Linked DNA regions of Homo sapiens: region 1 is linked to region 2. Evidence: promoter capture Hi-C in human tissues and cell types (Jung and others, 2019). All regions are on one chromosome and are shown on one strand. The core of a region is centred on a gene start or on the middle of the fragment in contact, and the rest is flanking DNA. Distances in the headings are between cores, read along the strand shown. Region 1 has its middle 220 kb from the start of PRR20E. Region 2 holds the start of PRR20A (proline rich 20A).

Region 1 (6,382 bases), core at 2,085-4,584, 240 kb before region 2:
CCAGTATTATTATAGTGTAGGAAAAAGACTGATAAAATATACCCACACAATTTCAGTGTGGTAATTCAATTTCAATATAAGAAATGAATCTAATAAAAAGAAAGGTCAAGAAAGCATCTTATCTCAATAATTAACAATATATTTGAAAGAGCTAGCTCAGAGGAAATTCATAAAATCAGTGAAGTTTGGCTTAGGAGCTTTTCAAAACCTCGGTTCTTCTCACTACATCTTCCCAGCTGTCCACTGACATCTTCAGGTCCTTCTGTCCAGGACCGTTGTTATGGGTTTGACCAGACAGTTTGACTTGACATCCACTGTGGAACGGTCTGGGGGGTGGGTCCCAGGAGTCTCCAGACAATACTTCCAGGGTATACATTGATTCAAAACTATTTTTACAATACTCAGATTGTTTGGTGTTTTTTAAAGTCAACATGATGTGATAACAGTATAATAGGTTGAAATCAGAGCTTATATGACAATTTATTTGTCTTCTTTAATCCAGACATAAAGAAATTTACAAAAATGTAAAGCAGTGACACTCTTATCTTTTTTTTGAAAAAATATTTTTTCATTAAAAATATGGCATTTATGTTTATATATGGGCTTGTTATTGCCATTTTAAGATTAGTACATAAATATTTACAAACTTATTAGTTTTAATATCGAATATTAAATATAAATAGCTATATACCACATAAGCAAAAGCTTGTGTTGGGAACCTTTGTAAGTTTTAAGGGTCCAAACAACTCCTAAACAAATTTAAGAATTGATATGCTAGTCTAAAATACTGAGTGGTGTCAAGTAGGACACTAAGTGAATATTTCAGGTAATAAATTTGCATTTTAGAGGAGCCTCCTGGATATTGATACTTTATTCCAAAGTAATAAAGATAAGTATGATTAAGTAATTTGTGGCAAGCTATTAAAGCAGATTTTATTGTGGAGATGGGACAGTAGTATGGCCAGGGAAGACAATACATGGTCTATAGAGGAATCTACCTACTTGTTCCAGAGCTGGCAGATGTGGGTTTGTCTCAGACTCCAAATGCATCTTGAGGAATGCTACCATGAGATAGGCTTTGCACTTTAAAAGTGGAGCAGGTAGCAGATGGAACCCCATGTGTTTAAAACCATTTTCTGAAATTGTGAATGTTTTTTCTGTTCTGAAAGGATCATTATAATTACATGTACTATTTTGGTTAGTTCTATGGAGGAAAAAGTTCCAAGTATGTCAAAGAAGCTTGATCTAATTTTATTTATTTAGTTATTAAAACATGATAGCCTTCCCAAGATACCTGAATAATTGAATTTTATTAAGCAATTACAATGTTTATGTCTGATTAATTTTCTTTTGAACTAAAATAGTGTATCAATAAACTGTAAAACATCAATATCCAGCTTACTTATGTGGAGTCTGTGTTGAAAATCAAACTGATTATTTTTTGGAAGCTTAATAAAAATGGCCTTTGAACTGCTCAGATGGGAAAAAGTCTAAATACAACATAAACAGCAAAAATGTCAGATGGAAATACTAAAAAAAAAATCTGTTAAATGGTCTATTTATAAAAATATTGTAACTGTTGAAATTTTATTTTAAATTTGGCTAAAATTTTTTGCTCAATATTTTTATTTATTTTAGTATATTTTGCAAATATTGCACATAGACTGCCGACATATTTTGCTTGGTTAATTTGGTCCAAATTTTTAAACTAAAAAACTGAAGATACTTTATAACTTTTATGAGTATATGCATATATATATATATATAATATATATAATATATATATATATATAAAATATATATAATATATATATTATATATATAATATATATAATATATATATATGTCTCCATAAAACATATAAATAGGCTGGGCGCGGTGGCTCACGCTTATAATCCTAGCACTTTGGGAGGCCAAGATGGGCGGATCAACTGAGGTCGGGAGTTCGAGACCAGCCTGACCAATATGGAAAAACCCCATCTCTACTCAAAGTACAAAAAAAAAAAAAAAAAAAATTAGCCAGGCATGGTGGCGCATACCTGTAATCCCAGCTACTCAGGGGGCTGAAGCAGGAGAATCACTTGAACCTGCGAGGCAGAGGTTGCAGTGAGCTGAGATCACACCATTGTACTCCAGCCTGGGCAACAAGAGTGAAACTTCATCTCAAATATATATATGTATATATATGTGTGTGTATATATATGTATATATGTGTATATATATGTATATATATAAATAAATAATGTATTCTAAATTCTTTAAAGAATAAAAGAAAATGTTGTAGGCAATTTTGTCAAACATTTGTTAAGATAAACAGTGTTCCTATGGAATTTCATAAGGATTTAGCCAAAAAACATTTTTGTAAAATAAGCCTGGGAAATATTGCATACTTCTCTTTCGCAGATTTAAGATACACGTGATTATTATACATTGTGTTCTTATATCAACATATCTCATATGTCCCATAAATACATAAACTTACTATGTACACACAAAAATTAAAAAGCAAAATTAGCAAAATTCATTTTAGCTTTTTAAATGCACAGACATATTCCAATAAAAGAAAATGGGTATTTTCTATATATATATGCCATTTAAACACAAAATCACTTGTTTTGGAATGTTAATAAATAATTGCAAATTTGGTGCTTTGAAAAAAACTGATCTGAAAGTGTTCTTTGAGATTATCTCAGTTACTTATAAGTTGCGTAAAAGTTGAATTTACCATTTTTGAATTTCTTCTTGTCTGATGTAGAACAATACATTTTTATCTCATTTAAGTAAAATTAATTCTATAAGTGTTTTGTGAATAAATTTTATCTAGACAAATATAAAATATTTCATATATCAAAAATATAGTAACTGCATTATGAAAATATTAAGTTATAGTTCTCAGGACTTTTCATGCTTTCTACGTATCTTTTCATGATTTCTACGTACCTTCTGTCCCTATTGGTTCAGATACAGAATCCATTTACTCTGATAAATATACTCTACATATAGTTCTTTTTAAAACCTGAAATATTACTACTTTTTTGGTATATTATCTCTTAGAGAATGTTTTATTGAGTAGTTGTAAAAGATTCTAAGTGATTTATGATTTTGTGTGGATAATTAGTGGAGAAAGTTGACATGAGACTCATTTATATTGAGTACTATTATCCCACTCAGTATCTTGGTTAAGTATTAATCTGTTAGCCACTAACATGTAACACAGAATCAGAGGAAGCTAGTAAATCCCTCATCTTACTGGCCCAAAATGAAATATATTTCAAAGAAAGAAAGAAACGCATTTTGACAAACTATAAAATTAAAGAAACTGATATCATACATTTGCAATTCTCCAAGTTGGAATTCAAGAGAAAGCTTGCTTAATTAAATGAATTTGCAGTCCAGCAAATGTCTTGTTCACTTTGTATGCAGTGAGCTTACCAAATTTAATTATTAGTTTATATAGTTGTTTTTCAAACTTGTTAGAATTTTCAAACACTGAATTGCACAATACTGCAGCCATTCAGCCACATGTGGCTGCTGACCAATTGTAATAGGGCTAGTCCAAATTGAGATGCACTCTAAGTGTAAAATATACATTAGATTTTAAAGACAGTAAGATAAAATGATTAAAACATTTTAAGATGAGATGTATTTTGGATATATTGCATTAAGTAAAGTATCTTATCAAGTTAATTTCACCTCCATTTTATTTTTTAAATGTCATTACTAGATATTTAATGTGCTTCTTGTTATAGAAGCACATTAAATAACTTTGCTGTAATAGATAATTGTATAATCTGTGCATAAGGAAAGTTTTACCACTTCTTTTCCAATCTGTATGCCTTTTTAAAAAAACTTTCCTTATTACACTTCTAAGAGCCAAAGTAGACAGTTAAATGAAAAAAGAGAAACAGGAAACATTCTTATTTGCTTCTTTATCTCAGAAAAAAAAAAACAAAAAACACCTTTTGGTATTTCACTATTGCATAAGAGAAGATACACCAGAGAACTATTAGGAAATGCACACACAAACACACACACACACACACACACACACATATATGTACATATATATATATAGAGAGAGAGCGACATTGATATTTTAAGGAATTGTCTCATGTGATTATGGGTCTAGGAAGTCTGAAATTCTAGGGCAAGCCAGCAGGCTGGAAATTCAGGTAAGATTTAATACTGAAGCCTTGAGGCCAATTCCTTGCTTTGGGAAACCTCTGTCATAGTTCCTACGAATTTCAACTAATTGAATGAGACCCACCCATATTATGGAGTGTAAGTAGTCTGCTTCACTCAAAGTCTACTGATTTAAATGTTAATTACATATGATAAATACCTTCACACTTATATCTAGAATGGTATTGAGCAAACAACTGTAAACCATAGTCTAGCCAAGTTGACATATAAAATTGACCATTAGAGTATTTAAATACGATGTTAGATGCTGTTTATATTTTGTTATCATATTGAACAAGCTTCTTTTATATTTGCCTAGTTTTCTAAGACATCTAACATGTTTCATATCTTTTTCACATTATTTTACTGCCTCTGTTAGAATAAACTTATTTTTGGTATTTTATTCTACAAATATGGCAAATTTGATTGAGTGGTATTTGAATCATAAACCAGCCTTGAATTCCTGGGATAAGCCCTGTCTTAGTCAGTTTGGGCTTCTGTAACAAAGTGCTATAGACTAACTTAAACAGCAGACATTTATTTCTCACATATTTGGGGCCTGGGAAGTCAAAGACGAAGGTGTTGGCAGATTTGACTACTGGTAAGAGCCTTCTTCCTGGCTTGTAGACAGCCTTCTTGCTTTTAGTCCATTCTGACAATCTTTGCCATTTGATTGAAATATAGATTACTTAGAATATATAAGTATATTTCTTATGCAGTCTTATACTTTTTTTACTTATGTAAGTATATTAAATAAAATATATCTTTGCCATTTGATTGAAATACGTATTACTTAGAATATATATTTATATACTGTATAAATTATTCTATATTAAATGTTATATAGATTATAGAAATTTATAATTATAATTAGATTATATAAATTTATATAATCTATATAACATATAAGTAATAAATATTTCAATTAAGTAGCAAAGATATATTTTACTTAAATTTAACGTAATTATTGTTATAGTTGAGTTAGTTACATTATTTGGCAAGTTAATCTCTATCGGTCACATTTTTTTCTTTCTATGTCTCTTCTTTCCTGTTAATACCTTGGTTAATGTATTATTTTAATTATTACATTCCAGTTATTCTATAGTGTTGCTATATTTCCTGGCAACCTTTTTTATTTTATTATTTTATTGGTTGCTTTCAATGATTTATATATGCATTCTTAATTTATCATCAACAGATAGTCAGAATGGCTATGTAAATACTAGACAGAATAGACTTTAATATAAGAAATTTATAAGATCTTTTAAAATAATAAGAGGGCCGACTCATCAAACAGGTCTAACAATTCCAAAAAAAAAAAAAATGCACCTAAGAATACAGCCAATACATGAAACAAAAACTGGCAAAATAAAAGGAAGATATGGCCATTAAACAATAATAGTTGGACACTTAACTACTCCATTTTCAATAATGGATACAATACCTAGGTAAGCAGATCAACAAGGAATTAGAAGACCTGGATGACACTATAAACCAAATCTCCTAACAGACATCTATGGGCCACTTTTTGAACAAGAGAAGATGACACTTTTTTTTCTCGTCAAGCACAAATGGACATTTGCCAGGATAGACTACAAAACAAGCCTACACAAGGTTAGGTTAAGGAATTCCATTCTTACAGAGAATCTTCTCTGAAAACAGTGGGATTAAATTAGAAATCAAGGCAGAAGAAATTTTGGAAAATTTATAATTATATGGAAATTCATCAGAATATTTCTTAAAAAACCCATGGGGCAGAAAATAACTCACAAGAAAAAACTTAGAAAATACAGTGAGATGAAAGAAAAAAAAAGCATAACATACCAAGACTTGTTGGATACAGCTAAAGTAGTGCTCAGAGAGTAATTTATTCTCTGAGCTGTAAATACCTATATTTAAGAAGAAAAAGAATGACCTCAAATTAGCAAGCCAAAATTTTCCCTTTAAAAAAGAAAACAGAGAGGAAACTACACCCAATCAAGAAGCTTTTTTGATAAGATCAACCACTTTGACAAATTTTTAGCTATACTGACTAAGAAAAAAATGAGAGTAAATGAAAATAAAGTCAAGAATAAAAATGGGGCCATTACTGGAAACTTTACAGAAATTAAGAGGATTATAAGAGAAAAATATTCGCAATTGCAAACCAAACAAATTAAATAATTTAGATAAAATGGACCTATTTCTAGAAACAAAAAAA
Region 2 (7,198 bases), core at 2,060-4,559:
TTCAGCAGGACCCCTGGCGCATGGCACGCCAGGTGTTTGTAAAAGCGAGCCACAAACGATGCTCTCAATGTACACGTTTGTTGGTGTAGACTTGTGTGACTATGGGGAAAGATGCGATATGAATGGAGAACAGAGACTGGAGCCATTTTTCTACCTTCCTTTCTGCTTTTAGTAAACACATTTTGTATTTGCGATTTGTGAAAGTTTAGTGAAAGAACTGTTCTATAAAATAAGTCTGAAGAGAAAGGTTTATTTAGAAGGATTGAGTACACAAGAGAAAAATCTTTGATGTAAAAAGTTATCTGTATTTTATTTGGACGTTTACAAAGGAGTGAAAACCAGCCAACAACAGCCTACCTAATAAAATACAAAATACAAAAGTTCATAATACAACATTTATCAAACTCTGAAAAGATGGGAACTAACTCAACTTAAACATCTAAGAGACACCTACAGCCAACATCTTGGTTAATGGTGAAACATTCAAAATATTCCCATTAAAGCCAGGAGGAAGCCAAGGACACTGCCGTCAAATTACTGATTCCTGGTTTAGCGGTTCCAGTGAGTCATGCACTCTCCTTGCTTCCGTTAACCGCCCCCCCCCCCACCCCAACACCTTTTGTCTGATTCGTCACATGTCCTTTGATCCCCTTTTTCCTCAATCTGTTTGAAATTTTACCTTCTATTCCAATTCATTTAGTGGTTCCCAAAGGGTACCCACGTTGAGACTTAAAAATGTGTCAGTCTAGATTTTTATTGCTCTTATATTCAGCCAGTCTATCGTCTCCAGGCACTAGAGAAGCACTTTAGTAACTTCTAGCTCCTTCTGAGTTTTCGCATGTCCCACATGTCTATATGAGTGTCTTCTGGAATTTTAATTCTAGGTCATCAATCCTTTTTCCAGAATCGTACTTCTCTGGACTTAAGAATACAGTTTCCTAATTTCCATGCTTAGTGATCCTTGTTGCATCCCACTTCTTCCAGGTTGTCTGGGTTGGCTTCTTCTTGGCTGAAAAACGTGACGTGTACTTTCACTGTACATGACAGTTCCATTCCAATCGCCTTGTACAGAAAGGGTGTTTGGCAGCTTGCATGTTGTAAGTTGCGTACTCCAAGTTCAGGGGAAGCTCAGGCTTCAGGTCCAGTCGGGGGAGGAGTGGAGCAGAAGTGGGGCTGGGGGGAACGTCCAGGTGGAAGGAAGGGAGGCTGGGAACAACGTGGGTGGCAGATAGTGGTCAATACGCAATGTCGGTGAGGAACACTGGGACCCCTTGCACGTAGGTGCCCTGGGGGGTTTGAATGACTTGTAAAACCGCTGAGTCACCCAGAGCCCTAAACCCGATGCAGGGATAGAGGGTCAAGACGGGTTGCCAGTCAACAGCCTGAGGCCCAGGAGCAGCGGGCGGCTCCTGAAACCCCAGCTCAGGTTGCGCCACGTCGGGGCCAGGGCCTTCCTGCACAGTTCCAGGCGGAGGACCTGTTTCAGAAAGGGAGAAGGCTGCGGTCTCCGTGATTTCCGGTTCCCCCTGGTGGCCTGGCTCTCCATGGTGGTCCAGTTGGATGTGCACGTCCGGTGCCATCAAGCCTTCTGCCCCCTGTCTCTGGCCAGCGTCCCCGCGGGGCCCAGCCCTTCTGCCACGGCCTCGCCCTGGCCGCCGGCTTCCTCCCCGGCGCCGGCCTCTCTCTGCAGGAGGGGGTGACTCTGGGCGAGCTGGGGGCTGCCGTCTGAAGGGTTTCACGTAAGCGATGGGTTTTGCGGGTTGGGCTGGCTGTGCGGGCCCATCTGCTTCCACGGAGCCTTCAGGGTCCGCAACACAGCAGCCTGGCTCTGGAGGAGGCCCACCTGAGGCTAAAAGAGAAGCGGAGCGTGAGCAGAGAGAGACAGAAGGAACTTCACCCGTCAAGCAGTTATAGGATACTTTTACAAATAAATACTCAGAGAAAAGAGGGATTTCTGAAGTTAAAATTGTGAGAGAAGAAACAAAACTCTCCACGGAAGTTGGAGAATGAAGTTGAGAAGGTCTCCCACAGAACAAAGCAAAAACCTAAAATGATGGAAAGAAGGATGAAATATAAGAGAATTAGAGGTATGCTGTGGCTGAGACATTTCACCAGAAAATTTCAGAGTGCTGAGGAAAAAGAGAAGATTCTAACAGATTCTAGAGAGCGGGAGACAGAGAAAGGAAAAGTCACATGGAAAGGGCTAGGATTCCACATGTCTCAAAAGTCAGACATCTCAAAAGCAGCAGTTCAGTCTAGAACATAACAGAAAATGTCTTCGAAATTTCAAGGGAAATGAATTTCCCACCTAAAATTTCCTGTCCAACCGAAGTTTCGCTGAAGAATCTGGGAGGGGAGAATGAAGATGTTTCAGACAAGCAAGATGTTAAAGAATTTCCTTTCAGTGGATGCTTTATTGTTATGCATCTGTCAAACTAGACAAGATTAAAAGATTTAGGACACTCAGCGTATGAAGGGAAAAGTTTTGGAGAACAACGTGGCAACAGCCGGAAAATTCCAACTCCTCCGGGAAAGAACAAGGTGGAAGTACCGGTTTATCATAGATCAAGACGTAGCGTGAGGACTCGCTCTGCTACGGAGAAACAGTAATACAAAACTAAACAGAAGGAAACAGCGACAACAACAGCAAATCTCAGATTTGGGAAATGGGATTACGGTTCGGAAGAGGGAAAGGAATTTCCCAGATGATGTGGAACCCGGGAGCTGACTTCCAACAAGCAGCCCAGGTTGAGGCAGGCTAGGAGAAGGTGAAACAGAGAATGCTTGATTGAGTTTGAGTGTCAACCATTGGGGAAGAATTGGGGAACAGACGAAATTAAAAAGAGAGGAGTGGCAGGCGTTTGATGTACCTTGATTAGGGGCCATGGAGCGAAGTCGCTTCGAAGGCCTTGGTTCCTCCATGAGCAATCGGCGGGAGGGGCTGGGGAGAAAAACAAGAGAGCAAGAACGGATTTAGGAAGACAGAGGTGACAAGGCAGGGGGATGGCCGTGGCCTTTCTAGGGGAATGAGGATTCTGTCCCCAACTGCACCCACCCGAGATCCGTCCACGCCTCCGGGACCCCCAGACACACACCTGATCTTCCCACAGCTGGCTCCGGAGATCTGAAAATTAGGAGACTCTTCGACGAAGAGAGGCCCGAGGAGTCGGAGGTGTCCACAGGTTCACCGCTGTAGCTCTGAGGTAGTCCACCCGCAGCCAGGGAGTCTGGAGGGAGCACGCAGCAGGTTCTGGCTCCGAGCCCAGCAGAAAGCCGACTGCTGGAGGCCGAGCGCCGTCCCTCTTATATGGCAGCAAGGCAGTCGCGTAAGGGACAGGCGTCGTCAGAGGGGGGCCGGCTGGGGCGGGCCTGGCTGGGCTTGCGAGGCGCATTGGGCCAGTCCCCTGCCAGTCAAATGGGGGCCCTTCTGAGATGCCGCCATTTCTAGACGTCCGTGGTTGATTGATTAATCTAATCATCGAGGAAAAAAAATTGCATAATGACCTCTGAGTGTCAGCACAATGAGGTGTGGTGCCCTGAAAGCGGCTGACAGGAAGATGCGATTAGCTTAGATCTGAGCATGGTCAAGGAAAGCATCCAAAGCGGGGATATCTGGGCTGAAATCTGGAACATAACGTTTGAAATTAGTCATCCTGAACCGGGTTGGGAGAGGCAGGGAGGGAGGAAGGGGAGTGAAGAGAGTGTGCTGAGGCCCGGACTGGAAGGGAGCCCGGCACATTCTGGGAATGGACGGGAGGCCAAGTCCAGGCCCGGAGGTGGTGCGTGTGAGACGGGGCTGGAGATGCGTGTGAGACCCACACCGCTGGCTTTTATTGCTGTGGGTGCACTCACGGGTGGAGGAAGACAGCGGGAAACACAGCAGGACGCTGGAGGGGATCCCACAGTGGGTTATTTGGTTGGTTTGCATCCTTGTGTTTTTTACAGAGACTGGTTCTCGCTCTGTAGCCCAGGCTGGAGTGCAGCGGTGCCATCTCGGCTCGCTGCGGCTACTTGGGGGGGTTGGGGGGGGGTGGCTGAGATAGGAGAATCAGTTCAAGTGATTCTCCTGTCTCGGCCTCCGGAGTAGCTGGACTACAGGTGAGCGCCACCACATCGGGATAATTTTCGGATTTTTTTGGAGAGACGAGTTTTCGCTATGTGCCCAGGCTTGTTTGGAAGGCCTGAGCTCAAGCCGTCCGTCCCGCTCAACCTCCCGAGTCGCTGGGACCCCAGGCGCAAGCCACCATGCCGGGCCAATTACTTTTTTGGGTTGTATTTCCTGTTGAAGTGAGGTTTTGCTATGCTTTCACCTCACATACCTTTTCTGTCCCAAGACCCCATCCAGGGTACCACCTTACAACTCGTCACGGTTCCCCTTGGCTGCGACGGTTTCTCACACTTGCCTTGTTTTTGATGACTCTGACACTTTGAATACTGATCAGATATATTGTGGGATGTCCTCTCCTGAAGTTCGTGTGATGTATTCCTTGTGATCTGACTGGAATTATATGTTTTTGTCAGGAAGATTGCAGCGGGAAAGCGCCATTCCCATCCCATCCTGTCTAGAGTACACACCATCAAGCCGGCTTATCACTGCTGCTATTAGTCCTGGTCACCGGGCTGGGGCAGTGTTGATTAGGTTTCTCCACCATAAAGTGATTTTCCCACCTCTTTCTCTACTGTGCTTTCTGGAAGTCGCTACCTGTAGCCTATACGTAAAGAAAAGGGAAGTTTTGCTTTATCTCCTTGCAGGGGAATAGCTACCTAAGTTCTGTGGAGTTCTCCTGTGTGGAGGATTTTCCCATTCTCCCCCACATGTTTGTTTATTTAATCACTTATTTATATCCGTATGGACTTATGGACACCTATTGTATGCTTTGGTTTACACTCCAGTACTTCAGGGGATGAATTATTTAATAATTGAACTAATTATTTTGTCAAGTATTTTACTTAACTATTTAATTATTAATTATTTAGGTAATTACTTTGTTACTCAATGTTTCCAGCTTTGGCCACCGGGAGCTCCTTTAGTTGGCTTCCGTGTCCCTTTGTCAACCTCCCATCTCAGCAAACTAACACAGGAAAAGAAAACCAAATATCACATGTGCTCACTCATAAGTGGGCGTCGAACAATGTGAATACATAGACACAGGGAGGGGAATATCACACACTGGGGTCTGTGAGGGACTGGGAATCTAGGGGAGGGAGACTATTAGGAGAAATACCTAATGTAGATGATGGGTTAATGGGTGCAGCAAAACATCATGGCACCTTTATACCTATGTAACAAAGCTGCACGTTCTGCACATGTATCCCAGAACTTAAAGCATAATTTAAACAAAAATTAAAGAAAAAAATTCCCTCACCCCTGCTCCACCCATCCCACAATCCTTCAACTTTTGTATCAGTGGCGAGAAGTGTTCCTCATGCAACATTCAGTTTCCTGCTTGGAAGGAATCCTCTATCCTGTGAATATCCCTCCAGAGATAGCACGTTCTTAATTCAGGGGATGCAAGGGCACACACAGAGTTGGGAGGTGGAAGACATGATGGATAAGGTGGATGGGGTAGTGAAGATGGCATGGAAGACTATACGGTATTTCATATATACTTGATAAATCTATATATTTTGTGTCTGAATTAAGATCCCAAGAATTTTAACAAGTTCTTAATTTCATGCAGGTCAAAGAGAAAATGAGCAATAGTACCTAATGTTGAGACTTGTAAATTTTCTTTCTGTGTTTTTAGAAGTGTTAGACATGATTGTATTAATTGACTGACAACCCAATATCTAACCTGGCTCATCCTCACCTTTCTGCTTTCCTTCTTTCCTCCTTCTTCTTCTTCCTCTTTTTTTTTTTTTTTTTTTTTTTTGTTGTTGTTGTTGTTGGTGTCCTTCCACTGATGTCCCTTTAATGACTACAGGCTAAGCAGTGTCTAGGGACTAGGGGTAAAATATTGAGCAAAACACATACTATTCTGCTTCACATTGGGTTTATGATCTAGAAACAATGTTGCACTTGGGGACACCTTAGTTTTTAGCAATCATCACTGTCTGAATAGAAAAATTATGAAGTAATAAACAATTTTGGGAAACACATATACTTGGTTCAAAATGTTGTAGAATCCCCCAATTTAGGTTAATGTTCCTGATACATAGTAAACCAAAAACTGACACCTCAGCTCCTAGGAGCAGAGAGAGTTTTATTCAATTTGGCCAAAACAAGAGGGCAGGAGAGAGAAATCTCTCAAATCCTACCTGTCTTTGAACATATTTGGTGGATTTTATGAGTAAGGTATGTATGTGAGGGGTGAGATGCCCTTATAATCAAAGCTGTTTGCGTCCTTTGGCCTGATCCGACTTCTAGTTGCCATCAAAGAGGTCTGCATGGTCTAAGGTTCATTGTTCTTTGAAAGACAAACAAGTTTATGAATCCTATGGGCTGTGCTTGGAGGTTGGGATGTGAAGTTAATCAATTGCTAGTGACTACTCCCTACTGAAACTACTACATGCAAGCAAGCATGCATGGAGAAAGAAAAGAACGAAGAGAAAGAAAGTAAGTAAAACAAAGTCTTGTGATTTTTATGAAATACAGGCTTCGTTACAAAAACACAGAAGAGATAAAATAAATGTACAAATAAATAGAATTACAGACACTTTTATTGAGATATATTTGCTTGAATAGGCATTAGCTGTTAGATATATTTACTCAGGTAAATGCATTTAAATGATTGTAACTGTTTAACAAGATTTTAAAATGCAACTAACTAGCATTGTTTCTGATAAGAATGTGAAAATGTTATACTACAAAAATTTGTTTGATGTTAATGCTAGCAATATTCACTACACTGATTTACATTACGAGATCTTGGAGAAGCATAAAATTATAGTAAAATGAATATGAAAGGCAAGCCAAAGGCAATAATTGCCTTATAAAGGCCTTTCAATAAATATCAAAATGCTGAGTTGGCCAATACCGTGATTCAGAAAGCAAAAGCCAAATTTTTAAAAAAGGAAGTATTTCTTAAGACATTTTTTTTTTCTAGGACTCAACTTTGAAGGATAGGAGAAACTCCATAATGAAGACAAATTCTCAACTCCATGAGAAAAGAGTAAAACTTTAATTGATGTGTTAAGAGATTTATTGCATTTCTTCTTATTGTCAGAAGATTCTAATTTTAAAATTGACTTCTTTTTC

The links. The method cuts DNA at HindIII sites, captures the fragments that hold promoters and counts their contacts. A contact is called where the count stands out against the background at its distance.
Region 1: a contact is called between a fragment that was not itself captured here and the fragment with the promoter of PRR20A in region 2, in 4 of the 25 tissues and cell types used here (dorsolateral prefrontal cortex, mesenchymal stem cells, ovary and 1 more).

What each region holds. Positions count from the first base shown.
Region 1 is chr13:57,381,019-57,387,400 of GRCh38, reverse strand. No RefSeq gene overlaps it. Among named protein-coding and RNA genes, the nearest start is that of PRR20E, 220 kb to the right of the region's middle. The HindIII fragment of the contact is 3,980 bases long and covers 1,345-5,324 here.
Region 2 is chr13:57,137,029-57,144,226 of GRCh38, reverse strand. It overlaps PRR20A (proline rich 20A), which reads right to left and starts at 3,309. Exons shown (of 3, transcript NM_198441.2): 1 at 3,096-3,309; 2 at 2,871-2,941; 3 at 288-1,849. The coding sequence starts at 2,922. The coding sequence ends at 1,236. LOC124903235 (a long non-coding RNA gene) reads left to right here and starts at 6,489. Exons shown (of 2, transcript XR_007063920.1): 1 at 6,489-6,556; 2 at 7,047-7,140. The HindIII fragment of the contact is 47,953 bases long and covers 1-7,198 here.